2 separate regions of the Homo sapiens genome follow, and region 2 is linked to region 1. Evidence: promoter capture Hi-C in 16 types of primary human blood cells and fetal thymus (Javierre and others, 2016). All regions are on one chromosome and are shown on one strand. The core of a region is centred on a gene start or on the middle of the fragment in contact, and the rest is flanking DNA. Distances in the headings are between cores, read along the strand shown. Region 1 holds the start of SEC14L5 (SEC14 like lipid binding 5). Region 2 holds the start of CREBBP (CREB binding lysine acetyltransferase).

The links. Contacts are between HindIII fragments. The CHiCAGO score rates a contact against its expected background, and 5 or more counts as called.
Region 2: the fragment with the promoter of CREBBP here is called in contact with the fragment with the promoter of SEC14L5 in region 1 in 3 of 17 cell types (naive B cells, total CD4 T cells and naive CD8 T cells); the score reaches 8.8 in naive B cells.

What each region holds. Positions count from the first base shown.
Region 1 is chr16:4,957,012-4,963,624 of GRCh38, forward strand. SEC14L5 (SEC14 like lipid binding 5) reads left to right here and starts at 1,319. Exons shown (of 16, transcript NM_014692.2): 1 at 1,319-1,434; 2 at 2,262-2,375. The coding sequence starts at 2,313. RefSeq lists silencers at 1,204-1,413, 1,212-1,507 and an enhancer at 1,311-1,846. The HindIII fragment of the contact is 6,723 bases long and covers 1-5,277 here.
Region 2 is chr16:3,878,955-3,885,563 of GRCh38, forward strand. CREBBP (CREB binding lysine acetyltransferase) reads right to left here and starts at 1,759. Exons shown (of 31, transcript NM_004380.3): 1 at 878-1,759. The coding sequence starts at 962. RefSeq lists silencers at 748-797, 878-927, 968-1,277, 1,615-1,664, 1,685-2,234 and an enhancer at 1,438-2,014. The HindIII fragment of the contact is 11,013 bases long and covers 1-6,609 here.

The sequences.
Region 1 (6,613 bases), core at 69-2,568:
AGGTAACAGCTCACTGCAGCTTTGAACTTCTGGGCTCAAGGGATCCTCCTGCCTCAGCCTCTTGAGTAGCTGGGACCACAGGCACGTGCCAACACGCCTGGCTAATTTTTTTTTTTTTTTTTTGCGACGGAGCTTTGTTCTTCTTGCCCAGGCTGGAGTGCAGTGGCGCAGTCTCGGCTCACTGCAACCTCCGCCTCCTTGATTCAAGCGATTCTCCTGCCTCAGCCTCCCGAGTAGCTGAGATTACAGGTATACGCCACCATGCCCGGCTAATTTTGTATTTTAGTAGAGACGGGGTTTCCTCATATTGGCCATGCTGTTCTCGAACTCCTGACCTCAGCTGATCTGCCTGCCTTGGCCTCTCAGTGTGCTGGGATTACAGGCGTGAGCCACCGCGCCCTGCCTAAACTAAAAAAAAATTTTTTTGTAGAGATAGGTTCTTGCTATGTTACCCAGGGTGGTCTCCAACTCCTGGGTTCAAGCGGTCCTCCCGCTTCCGCCTCCTAAAGTGTTTGGATTACAGGCGTGAGACATGGCGCCCGGCCTCTTACCTGTTTTAAATTGTCCTTTCTCTCCGCTGGCTCCTTGAGCCCCTTTCCTGCTTATTTTTCTCTCGTTAGAGTTTTTCACTACCTCACACATCATATATTTGCCTTATTTATTGAGTGTCTGTCTCCCCACCGTAGTATAAACTCCACGAGGGCAGGGATTCGTGCGTGTGGCTCACCGGCGGCTCTCCAGCGCCTGGACAGGGCTGACCCCCAGCAGGCGCTCTGTGAAGGTGTGCAGAGTGGGCGAAGGTGCATGCGCGGGCCGTGGGGCGGGGACAGGTGGAGGAGCCAGTCAGACCCAAGTGCAGCGGGACGAGGGCGAGGTTAATCTGAGCAAGAAAAGCGTAAATTCTGCTTATCTACAAATGTAAACAGTACTGTCGGCCAGACGCAGGGTCCGGGGCGGGTCGGCCCGGACTCAGGGTCTGCTTGGAGGCAGAGCTAGATTAGGGCGGGGTCGTCCTGTGGCCTACCATTCCCCGAGGCTGAGGGCCTTGGAGGGCGGGGCCAGTGAAGGGGGAGGGGACTTCCTGAGGTGTGACCAATCTAGAGAAAGGACTGGGCTGAGGGCGTGGTCAAACAAGCGACATCTAAAAATAAGGGGCGGGGCTAGAACCAGGGGGAGTTCGCCTGGGGCGGGGCCAGAGTGGGGCGGGACCAGTTAGGGGGCAGGGCCAACCTGGGCGGGGCCATGGCCGGGGACGTGGGCGGGACCAGGTCAGGGGCGGGGCCAGGCCAGGATCTCCGCTGTCCCGGGTCCTGGAGCTCTCTCGGCCCGGCAGGTTTCGCTCCCGCCCCTCCGGCCTTCCACAGCTGTCCTGGCCGCAGGGTGTTCAAGGCGGGACACACCAGGCTAGAGATCCGCGATCGGGCCCCGCCTCAGGTACTGCGCTCCAGGCCAGGCGGGCGCGGGTAAGCGCTCAGCTCCCGAGCCAGGCGGGCTTCCAGGGCACTTCCCCTAGGCTGCATTCCCAAAGGCTCCCGAGGGCGAGGGTGAGCAAAGCTGCGGGGACCTGTGTGTGCATGCGTGTGCGATTGCCTCTACGTGTGTGTACGTGTGTGTGCATGTGCGCACGGGTGTGTGTGCGTGTGTGCACGTCTGTGCACACCAGGGGAATTGCGTGCGTGGAGCTGGGCAGGTGCGTGTTTCAGGGTGTGTGTGCAAAGTTGGAGGCGTGTGCAAAAGCAGTCCCGTGTGGGAGGGAAACCTGCGTGTGTACATGTGTGTGATAGAGACAGTGCCTGTGAAATGTGGTGAAGGCTGTGTGTGTATGTCAGGGTGTCTGGGAGGAAAATGGGAGGGCAGGTGCAAGGAGACTCGGGGGTGGGCTGTAGGCCAGCAAGTCTGTGGCAAGCTGCGGGGTGCATGCGTGAATAGAACCGTGGGAGTGTAAGAATTGCAAATGTGTGTGTGTCTGTGTGGGTGGCCGTAAGGCTTCTGGGGGCCCTCAGTGTGAAGGGGTGGGGGTAGAGGAAAGTTTGGGGGTGCTGACTGCTCTTGGAAGGCTGAGCGTGGTCTGGGGCCATGGCTAATGACAGGGAAGCTGTTGGGGCTTGGCCTGGAGTAATTTGGGGGGAATATCAGCCTTCTCAATTTGAAGGCTGGGGAGCTGTGTGGGTGGGGCCAGGGGCTGCCCCTTACACTTGGTGGGTGGTGTCCCTGCTTCCCGAGGTGGGAGCTGCAACCTCACCAGTCACTCCTCGCCCCAGGCTCTGTGCACACCCCTGCCTGGTGACCTCCATTGGTGCTCCAGCGTGAACATGGTGCAAAGATACCAGTCTCCTGTCCGAGTCTACAAGTACCCGTTTGAGCTGGTCATGGCGGTGAGTGACTCCTGATTCTTGGGCCCCCATGTGACAGTTGGAGGGGCTTGAGATCAGCTATGGCGGTAGGAAGACGGAGCTCCTTAGACTCCCAGATCAGAAGGAATTAGTGAGTTACTCAGCTGACCTGGTGGGTTTAACTTCTATCCAGTGACCTCTCTGTCCAACCATCCTATCCTCGGCCCAGTGACCAAAACACAAAGTCTTTCTTCCTTCTCCTTGTTGAAGCTGACCTGCTCCCTTACTTTAGACTCTCCTGATAGAAAACAAAGGTATCAGGGGCCAAGCCACTGCTGTCATTTCATATAATGGCATATCACAGTGATAAATGGAATGGTGGTGATAATGACAACAGCTGTTTATTGAATGTTTACAGCACTGTCTTAACAGATGATGTTTCTTCCAATTCCCGATAGCTGTTATTTTCCCATGTAACCTCCATGAAACTGAGGCTTTGACAGGTGAAGGGATGACACTAAGTTCTGTATCTACGCAGAGGTGGAGTCGGGGCTGAGATCCCCACAAAGGAGACTCTAGAACCTCACATTTGACCACAGAGCCCTCCTTCTGCTCACAGACCCCCTTCCCTCCCCTTTAAGGAAGCTGACACTGGGACGAGAGAGAGAATGAGTGGGTAGGTTTGCTTTGTGATGTACTCTGTGTTGTGCAGCAAGTCAGTTGGAGGCCTAGAATTGGCTGCCAGATCCTTGGCCCCCAGGATCACTGGTCTTTTCACCCTGGGGGCAGAAGCTGGACATAGGTGGATGTGGAATTCCTTCTTGGCTGCATCCCTCTGCCTCTGAGCACTTCACTTCCCTGCTCAGTAACATGGGGACAATGCTACAAGGTTGCGGGGAGGAGTAAATGAGATAGTTCTTGGTGCTCCTTGCTGTGTGCCGGGCACACAGTAGGAGCTCACAAAATATGCTGTCGCTGTTATTACACCGAAGTCTTGTAAATTAATGTATTGAAAGTGTAAGAAACATTAGCATCCACCCCCATCTGTCCCACCCCAGCACTGACTGCTTAACCCCAGCCTTCTATCCAGGGACTTTCATATCTCTTGGTGGCTGTGTGTGCCTGTGTGTCCAGTCCTGTCTTATTCTATGAATCTACATGCGTATATGTTTATTGTCACACAGAGGATTTAAAAGCATCACCAAAATCATCCACATACCTTGTGCTGTTACAGGCAGATGGTTCTAGGACAGCAAAGAGGCAGGAACTGGCTTAGGGTCATATTCTAGCTCCCCAATTGACGAGCTGAGTGACTGTGGGGCAAGTCACTTCACCTCCATGAGCCTCCACTCCCCATCACCAATGGGAATCTCCTGGCTTCCAAATCCTGGTGTCATGCTGTGGATTAAATGAGTCAATGTGTATAAAGCTCCTGGTACGGGGCTGACGCAGATCAAATGCTCACTGAGATCCAGCTATGATCGTTACTGTTTTTGCAAGTGCCTGAGTGACTTTGCTTCTGCGTAATGGGAGTGGAACACCAGGGGATGGTGAAGAGATCCAGGGACGTGAATTCAGATGCTTTAGGGTTCTGCTGTGCTCTGCCATGCTCTGGTTGTATGTTTTTAGAAAGTTGCTGAACTTAAGCCGGGTGCAGTGGCTCACACCTGTAATCCCAGCGCTTTGGGAGGCCGAGGTGGGTGGATCACAAGGTCAGGAGATCAAGACAATCCCGTGTAACACGGTGAAACCCCAACTCAACTAAAAATACAAGAAAAATTAGCCGGGCGTGGTGGCGCGCACCTGTAGTCCCATCTACTCGGGAGGCTGAAGCAGGAGAATCTCTTGAACCCAGGAGGCAGACGTTGCAGAGAGCCGAGATTGCGCCGCAACACTCCAGCATGGGTGACAGAGCGAGACTCCGTCTCAACAACAACAACAGCAACAACAACAACAACAAAGTTGCTGAACTTTTCTGAGCCCCATTTTCTTTTACTTTTTCCAGACTGAGTCTCACTCTGTTGCCCAGACTGGAGTGCAGTGGTGCCATCTTGGCTCACTGCAACCTCTGCCTCCCAGGTTCAAGCCATTCTCGTGCCTCAGCCCCCTGAGTAGCTGAGATTACAGATGCACACCACCATGCCCAGGTAATTTTTGTATTTTCAGTATAGACGGGGTTTCATCACGTTGGCCACGCTGGTCTCGAACTGCTGACCTCAAGTGATCCACTAGCCTCGGCCTCCCAAAGTGCTGGGATTACAGGGGTGACTCACTGCATCCGGCCCCTATTCATATAGCCTTAAGTGCTATATTCATGGGCATGGCTTATTTTCAAGTGCAATGATTGTAAATATTTTCAGAACCCTAAACGTGACAAATTAAGTTGGAATTTATTAAGCACATGCAGTAGATGGTTTTCCATCCTATAGTTAATGTGTCTCAGATTCATGGCAGAGAACCATGGGTCCTTGGACTGTCAGAGAAGGGTGGGGACAGTTTCTCTCTTCTTATGAATGAATGAACAAGTGCTTGGGTCTTAGAACATGTGAGCTGCCAGAGCCTTAAACTAAGGGTGATTATTTATGTTTATCGACCACTTATTGTCACTTGGTAGGACTGGGCCCTGTGCGAGGCAAACAGACACACACACACACAATCACTTTTCATCTTCATGACAACCTTATGAGGCGCATATAGGCATACAGTCATCCCCATTTCACAAATCAAGAAAATGGGGGCTGGGTGCTTATTCATAGAATAAGACAGGACTGGACACACAGTCCTGCACTCGAGCCTGGGCAACAGAGCGAGACTCTGTCTCAAAAAAAAAAAAAAAAAGAAAAAGAAAAAAAGAAAAGAAAACAAAAACAACAGAAAAACTATATGAATAGCACTAGTAATGTACTCGCATTGCCTGTATTGGGTATGTTAAACATATTTTGTAAGCTTCAGGTTCCACAAATGAAGGCACGGCTCCATTTACTCCCTTCGCTGTTGAGTCTCTAGGTACTGACACCTGTGGGTAGAGTGAAAAAAAGGCTTTCAAATCTATATTATCTGTGGCCAGGTATGGTGGATCATGCCTGTAATCCCAACACTTTGGGAGGCTAAGGCGGGCGGACCACCTCAGGTCAGGAGTTCGAGACGAGCTTGGCCAACATGGTAAAACCTTGTCTCTACTAAAAATACAAGAATTAGCTGGGTATGGTGGCAAGCACCTGTAATCCCAGCTATTCGGGAGGCTGAGAGAGGAGAATCGCTTAAACCCGGGAGGCGGAGGTTGCAGGGAGCCGAGATCGTGCCATTGCACTCCAGCCTGGGGGAAGAGTGAAACTCTGTCTCAAAAAAAAAAAAAAAAAAAAAACTTCCTTATCTGTACCTGCGTTAATTTAAGTCATTTGTATTTTCCAGAGGGACTGCCACAACCCTGTCATTCTATCTTCCATACAGTCCTTGTCTGTGAAATGGTCCCAAGCCACAGCAACACTGCCAACAAAGCCACTTTGCCGACTGTTTACAAAACATTATTGTCCCCAAAATAGCTGCATAACTCAACGTAACTTGCACACTGTGGAAGCACAAAAGGGGTTTTCTATGCTTAATGTTCGTCTTTGTTTCGCAGTTAAACACTTGCCCTCAGATTGGGTCAGATGCCGGGGAAGTTTCAGATGAACTCAGCTATTTTCACTGCATCCGAGTGACCAGAAAAGCTGGCCTTTCAGTTTTTCTGTTTAACAAAACTGACTTCAGAATCAAAATGCTCCTAGCTTCTTCAAAACTCCACTGACAATGACACAAATGACTGAAATTGGGCTTGAGTAATTGATTACAAAATTGTGCTTTGAGGTAACCTTTCTAGACCTGGCTTTAAACATTTTTAAAAATTAATACTCTCACTTAAAAAATTTATCTAGTCAAATAAACAGAGATTTCTCTCCAAATCCCTTCCCACGAATTTTGCTTCTAAAGAGAAGGATTCTAGGGTATCTTTCCTCCTCCCAACTATTTTTTTTTTAAGATGGAGTCTCGCTCGCTTTGTCATCTAGGTTGGAGTGCAGTGGCATGATCTTGGCTGACTGCAACCTCCGCCTTCTGGGTTCAAGTGATTCTCTTGCTTCAGCCCCCTGAGTAGCTGAGATTACAGGCATGTGCTACCACACTTGACTAATTTTTGTATTTTTAGTAGAGACGGGGTTTCACCATGCTGGCCAGACTGGTCTTGAACTCCTGACCTCAAGTGTTCCGCCCGCCTTGGCCTCCCAAAGTGCTGGGATTAGAGG
Region 2 (6,609 bases), core at 509-3,008, 1.1 Mb before region 1:
AAAGGAAACAAACAAAAAGATGATTTATTCAGTATCCTGCTCCATTTTTTTGAAAAATTGGAATTCCTACATTCCTTAATTCTTTGTACATCTACACTGTGAAAGCAACACAAACTCAAATGGAGATTGCAGCCCAAATGAACTTAAACCTGCTGTTTAACTTTCTTTTGAAGTTATACATGGAAATGAAACACACCACAGCAACTTTCATGACATCTTGCTAACGAAGTTTGGGTTTTGAAAAATGGAATGACTAGTTGACTAAAAACACACACGCGCGCACACACACACACACACACACACACACAAAACAAGGAGTTTTGAAAATAAGCACTAAGCATCTTTCCAAGGAACTCACTCATTCCAAGAAACTTCGGTTCTAACTCGCAAGCTGGCGGCTGCTGTGAGTGTCCTCTGAATGCAGCCTGGTCAATGTGTCGCCAATCCAGAAAACACACTGCCCTACCTTTGGCCGCGATCTTGCTTTCTCTAAGCATCAAAGGTACCCTCCGCTGTCATTCCTCTGGACGGCCACGCGTGTGGACACGGCCGCGGATGGATGCGTAGGACATTACCAAACAAACCCACACGCTGCACTTTACTTCTTCCCTCCTGGAGTGCCACTAGGGTCCCCGCGAGGAGGGCTGATCGGGTGCGGGGAGGCCGAGTGCACCGGGCGTGTGCTGACCAACTCGGGCCCAGTGACAGTCCTGCGACGAACTTCCACCCTCCCGCGCGGGGCGAGGGGAACGGGCTGCGGGGCCTGCTCCGAGCTCCCGGCTCGATCGGTATCCGCGACCACGACCCCCGGACGCTCTCTTTCAGGTGGGGGTGACAGCGCGCCCCGGGCCCCCGCCGCCCCGGACCCCCTCCTCACCTGTGCTGTCATTCGCCGAGAAACCGGGCGAGCTGAGTTTGGCTCTTTTGGGGTTGGGCGGTCCGTCCAGCAAGTTCTCAGCCATTTTCACCTGCTCGCGAAAACAGCCCCGGGCACGGGCGGCCGGGCCGGCGAGGGCCCGGACGGGGGTCGGGGGCCCTGCCGGCTGCGAGGGAGAGGAGCGAGCGCGGGCCGCGAGCGGGCGGGCGGGCGCCGAGGGAGAGGGAGGGCGCAGGCCGGGTGGGGGAGGCGGCGGCCAAATCTCAGCCACAGCAACAGCGCCCCGCAGCGCTCACCGCCCGCCCCCGGCCGCCGCCGCCGCCGCCGGCCGCGGCCCCCTCATCCCCTGCCCGCCTCCCGAGCGCGACACTCCGCGGTGGGGGCGCCCCGGCGGCCCGGCCGCCCCCCCGGGCCCGGCTGGCAGCGACGGCGCCCGGCCGGGCGGCTCAGGCAGTCCCCGAGAACATGGTGCCGCCGCCGCCGCCGCCTCGCTCCCCCCCCGCGCCCCACTTAATGAATTCGCTCGCGGCCCGACGACGAGGGGGCTCCGGGCTCCGCTCCCGGCCCGCGGCCCGCCGCCGCCGCCGCCGTGAGGAAAAACAATGCGCCGAGCGGGGTCGCCGCCGCCGCCGCGGCCCCCCCACCCCCCGTTCCGCCGCCGCCGCCGCCGCTGCCGCCGCCGCCGCCGCCGGGCTCCGGGAGGCCGAGCCGAGAGGCGAGCGGGGCCGCCGGGGCGGGCGCCGAGGGCCGGGCGGAGCGGGCCGGCCGGGCGGAGCGGGGTGCGCGGGCGGTTGTGGGGCCCGGGACCGGCGGGGCCGAGTAGATCGCGCTCGAAGCCCCGGTCGGGTCCGCGACAAGATGGCGGCTGTTGATTCCTCAATTAAAAAAAAAAGAAAGTTTTTTTTCTTCTCTTTCCAGAGCCTGAACGGGGAGGGGGTGGGGGCGGGGCACGCCGGTGCGTCACCCCCCCGCGGCGTCACCACGCACGGCCCCCGCCCCGCCCCCTCCACCTGCGCCGGCCGTGGCGGAAAGAGCCGAGCGTGCTCGGGCCGAAGGGCTGAAGGCGCGGCCGCCAAGCGTAGGGAAGCTGGCGGCCCGGCGCGGGCCAGGCCTGCGGGGCGCCTGGGCTCCGGGCTGAGCCACAGCTTTTGTTCTGATGGCGACCAGGCGTAGAGGGCCGGGGCTCCGGGCCCCAGCGGGCTCCGGGAGCGGCGGCCTGGCCGCGGGCTGGGCTCTCGGGCGCGGATTCGACGCCAGCCCGGGCCCGCCCGTCCCGCTGGGGCGGCGCTGCGTGTTCCCAGCTCCTCGCGTCCCCTTCCCCAGACCCTCCTAGGTGGCGTCGGTCGGGAACGGTCGGGGCGACCCCAGCCCAGGCCGCGCCACTAGCCTTCGCCGCCGGCCAGGGAAGTGGAATGGCCTCTGCAGGTTACAGACCGCCCTTGGGTCCTGCCGACGAGGTGGGCGGATGGGGAAACTGAGGCGGGGGGCGAGCAACTGCTCCAAAGTGGTCGAGGCAGGAAGTGGCAGGGCCGGGATTCGGGTCCCGCCCTACCTCGTGACACTAGGGAGTGAGGGGGCCTCACGCCTGTTCGCATCCCAAGGCGGCAGGGCAGACACCCTCACCTGTGAGAGCGGGGTGGCGAGGGCCGGCCTGGGCGGAGAAGGGCCCGCGCATCGGGGCTTAAGCCTGGACGCTCAGGCCGCACTCCCCGCCCCAGGCAACTTGCCTGGCGCCTCGCAGGTGCCCCAGACAGGGGTGCGGGCCTGGGGAGTCCCCCACGCGAGACCACAGCCCGCGGGACACTTCTACGAATACCCGAGGTGTTCCCATCCCAGTTAGTTATCTGCCCCTCCAAACTTGCCCGGCTTCCTCATAAAGGTATCAGCAGCTCCACTGTTTCCTAAGCCAGAAACCCGTGAGTCAGCGCGGACTCCTCCCTCTCACCCGCCACGCGCCCCTCTACCCACGGTCTTTACCTGGGAGACTGCTCCTCCCGCACTGTCCCGGTGGCTATGGTGGCAGCTACTCACTTAAGTGTTCTTTGCTCTCCACGTTGCTCCCCACGCAGCACCAGAGTTAACATCCCGAAAAGAGAGGGAGAAAATCTGTTTAAAACAACTCCCTGGCCAGGCGCGGTGGCAGATCACCTGAGGTCAGGAGTTCAAGACCAGCCTGGCCAACATGGTGAAACCCCATCTCTACCAAAAATACAAACATTAGCTGGGCGTGGCGGCGTGCGCCTGTAATCCCAGCTACTCGGGAGGCTGAGATGCGAGAATCACTTGAACTGGGGAGGCCAGTAAGCCGGGATCTCGCCATTGCACTCCATCCTGGGCGACAAGAGTGAAACTCCGTCTCAAAAACAAAACAAAACAAAACAAAATCCCAGACATAGAAAAAGAAAACACTACATAGTCTTTCTTTAAAAAAGAACACGTATGAATTCTCTTAAAAACATAGGTGTATGTACATATGGTGACTGTCCTTGAGTGTCAAGATTGAGTGATCGTTCTGCTTTTCTCTGTTTACCTGTACTGCTCAAAATCTTGGGCCGTGATACCGCTCTTGAATCTGTCTCTTCTACTTTACATGGCTCACTTCACCATCATCATCCTACACCCACTTGGCCAGTAGGCAGTTCACATCATTCAGGCTTTTTTTTTTTTTTTTTCAAATGCTGGTCCCTGTGCTGAGAAGACATGCCTGGCAAATTCTAACTCATCCTCCAGAACCCAGTTCAAATGTCACCTACTCCAGGAAGCCCTCCTAGCCCACTCCTCGGCTCCCATATCACTTCTGGGCTCTGTGAGAGAACACATAACACATCCTGCCCCATCTTCCCCGCCTCCACTGCCCCCGAATTAGTTCATGTTTTTACTTATGCATCAAATAGCTCTTGAGAATCCCAAGGGCATTGAGACTGTGCTAATCCCCTTGGCCAAACATAAAGAGATCCCCATATATTCAAGGAGTTAAAATAGCACACCCTGGAAGCCATAAATGGAAGTATTCAAGAAGTCAGTTTGCACAGGAATGGCAAGAAGTGTATCAGTGGCACAGGGCAGGCCACACCCTGTATCTGAATGCTCTGGGTGTCCGTCTCACCAAGGGTCTGTGAGCTCCTTCGGGGCAAAGATGGTGTCTTAGTCACAGAAACAGTGCTCTGCAAGAAGAAGTAGGTTTGTAAAACTGAATGAGTGATGAGCTGTGTCAGGTGCTCTGAGTCCTAGAGGCCTTCAGGCCACTGAAAAGGGTGGGCCCCAGCCTGAGGTGGCTCCAGGCCACTCTTCAAACGGGACAAGGTGTCCAGCCACCTAGAGGTCTTAGGGCCTGCCTTGGGGCAGTGGAGACACCATGCAGCCCCCCAGGGGTCCATTGGTGAGTGGTTTACACAGAAGTGGGCACAGGAGCTTGAGCCATTCCCTGACAGGTTTCCATTTTACAGAGGAAAGCAAGGGAACTCAGTCGCAAGGACTCAGAAGTAAATAACCCGGACATGGCAAGTCTGGGCCTGGAACCCATGTCCTCACTCTCCAAAGACCCTAGTCTTCCTGTCTCACCATGTTCCACCCTCAAAATATACCGGCTCTGCAGTCCCTTTTTCTGTCTCATTGTTCTCACCTGTATCATTTTGATCAATTCTGGTATTCACTGATACCTGTTTTTTCTTTCCTTTCGATTTCTTCTCCCTTCAGTCTGACTCAAAGAACCCTGAGCTCAGACACTGATGGGGGAATAGCAAGGAGGGAAGCGTGGCTCCTGCCTGCACTCACTTAGCTGGGGATCACCTTCAACAAGTGAGTGCCTTAGGGATACCAGGCCGCTCTGCCATGCCTCCCATGGATAGCACTTCCTACAATCCTGGAAGGAAAAATTGTCCTCATTTCACAGATGAAGAAATAAGGCACAAAGGAGGACAAGCCACCCAGCCACGAAGGGGCTTCACTCCGGTGCACACCTAAGGCTTCCTGCTCTTTCCACAAACCTCACCCTCTCCAGTCTCAGATACCACATTAAAAAACAATCAAAGGACTGGGCATGATGGCTCATGCCTGTAATCCCGGCACTTTAGGAGGCCGAGGTGGAAGGATCTCTAGAGCCCAGGAGTTTGAGACCAGCCTGGGCAACAGTGAGACCCTCATCTCTACAACAAAATGTTAAAAAGTGAACTGGGCGTGGTGGCATGCACCTGTAGTCCCAGCTGCCTGGGAGACCAAGGCAATAGGATCACTGGAGCTCAGGAGGTTGAGGCTGCAGTGAGCTATGATCAAACCACTGCACTCCAGTCTGGGCAACAGTGAGATACTGTCTAAAAAAAAAGAAAAGAAAAGAAAAGAAAGAGAAAGAAATGGAATTGGAATTGTTGGCTGGATGCGGCGGCTCACGCCTGTAATCCTAGCACTTTGGGAGGCTAAGGTGAGTGGATCACTTGAGGTCAGGAGTTCGAGACCAGCCTGGCCAATAAGGTGAAACCCTATCTCTACTAAAAGTACAAATAAATGGCTGGGCATGGTGGGGGGGCACCTGTAATCCCAGCTACTTGGGAGGCTGAGGCAGAATTGCTTGAACCCGGGAGGCGGAGGTTGCAGTGAGCCAAGATCGCACTCCAGCCTGGGCAACAAGAATGAAACTTCGTCTCACAAAAAAAAAAAAAAAAAAAAAAAGAAATGGAATTGTTGCAATTTGATATTGATTGTCCCTTTCTAGGCTTAAATAGATTAAAAGATAGCATCAGGTTTGGACTTTGCCTTCAAGCGATGCAGAACAGCATTGGGGAGAAAAACACAAACAGGACACACATTGAAAAGATAAGCAGAGAATCCAAGTCAGAATAGCACAAAATCATAATAACTGATCCCCCAGGGGTGGGAGTCCCGGGGTTGGGGGGCAGAGGCCTGGGGGAGTAGTCCCAGGAAGGCAGGATTCCAGCCAGTTCCTGGTGGACAGAAGGCAGAATGTGGTCTGGTGGTGTGGAGGGATCCAGACAGAGCTAGGTTCAAGTCCCAAACCTACTGCTTTTTCTTAGCTGTTTTGAAAACAAATACCTCGGCCAGGTGTGGTGGCTCACACCTGTAATCCCAGCACTTTAGGAGGCCAAGGCGGGCAGATCACCTGAGGTTGGGAGTTCGAGACCTGCCTGACCAACATGGAGAAACTCCATCTCTACTAAAAATACAAAATTAGCCGGCCTTGGAGGTGCATGCCTGTAATCCCAGCTACTCGGGAGGCTGAGGCAGGATAATTGCCTGAACCCAGGAGGCGGAGGTTGTGGTGAGCCAAGATTGCACCATTGCACTCTAGCCTCGGTAACAGGAGCAAAACTCCATCTCAAAAAAACAAAAAAAGAAAAAAAAAAACAAATACCTCCTCACCTGCTGAGACAGTTGAGGTGCGGTGGAGATGAGATGGAGGGTGCACAGGGTCCCTGGCACACCAAGGCACCATATAGCTGCTATTTGGGGCAGTGGGAAGCAGGCGCTCAAGGGTGAGAGGCCCCTCTCCTCTCTCTGCCGTCCACATGGGAGGCTGCACCCGCCCCTCTCGTGGGGGACTTGCTGTTGCTTTTTTTTTTTTTTAATTATACTTTAAGTGTTAGGGTACATGTGCACAATGTGCAGGTTAGTTACATATCTATACATGTGCCATGCTGGTGTGCTGCACCCATTTACTCGTCATTTAGCGTTAGGTATATCTCCTAATGCTATCCCTCCCCCCTCCTCCCACCCCACAA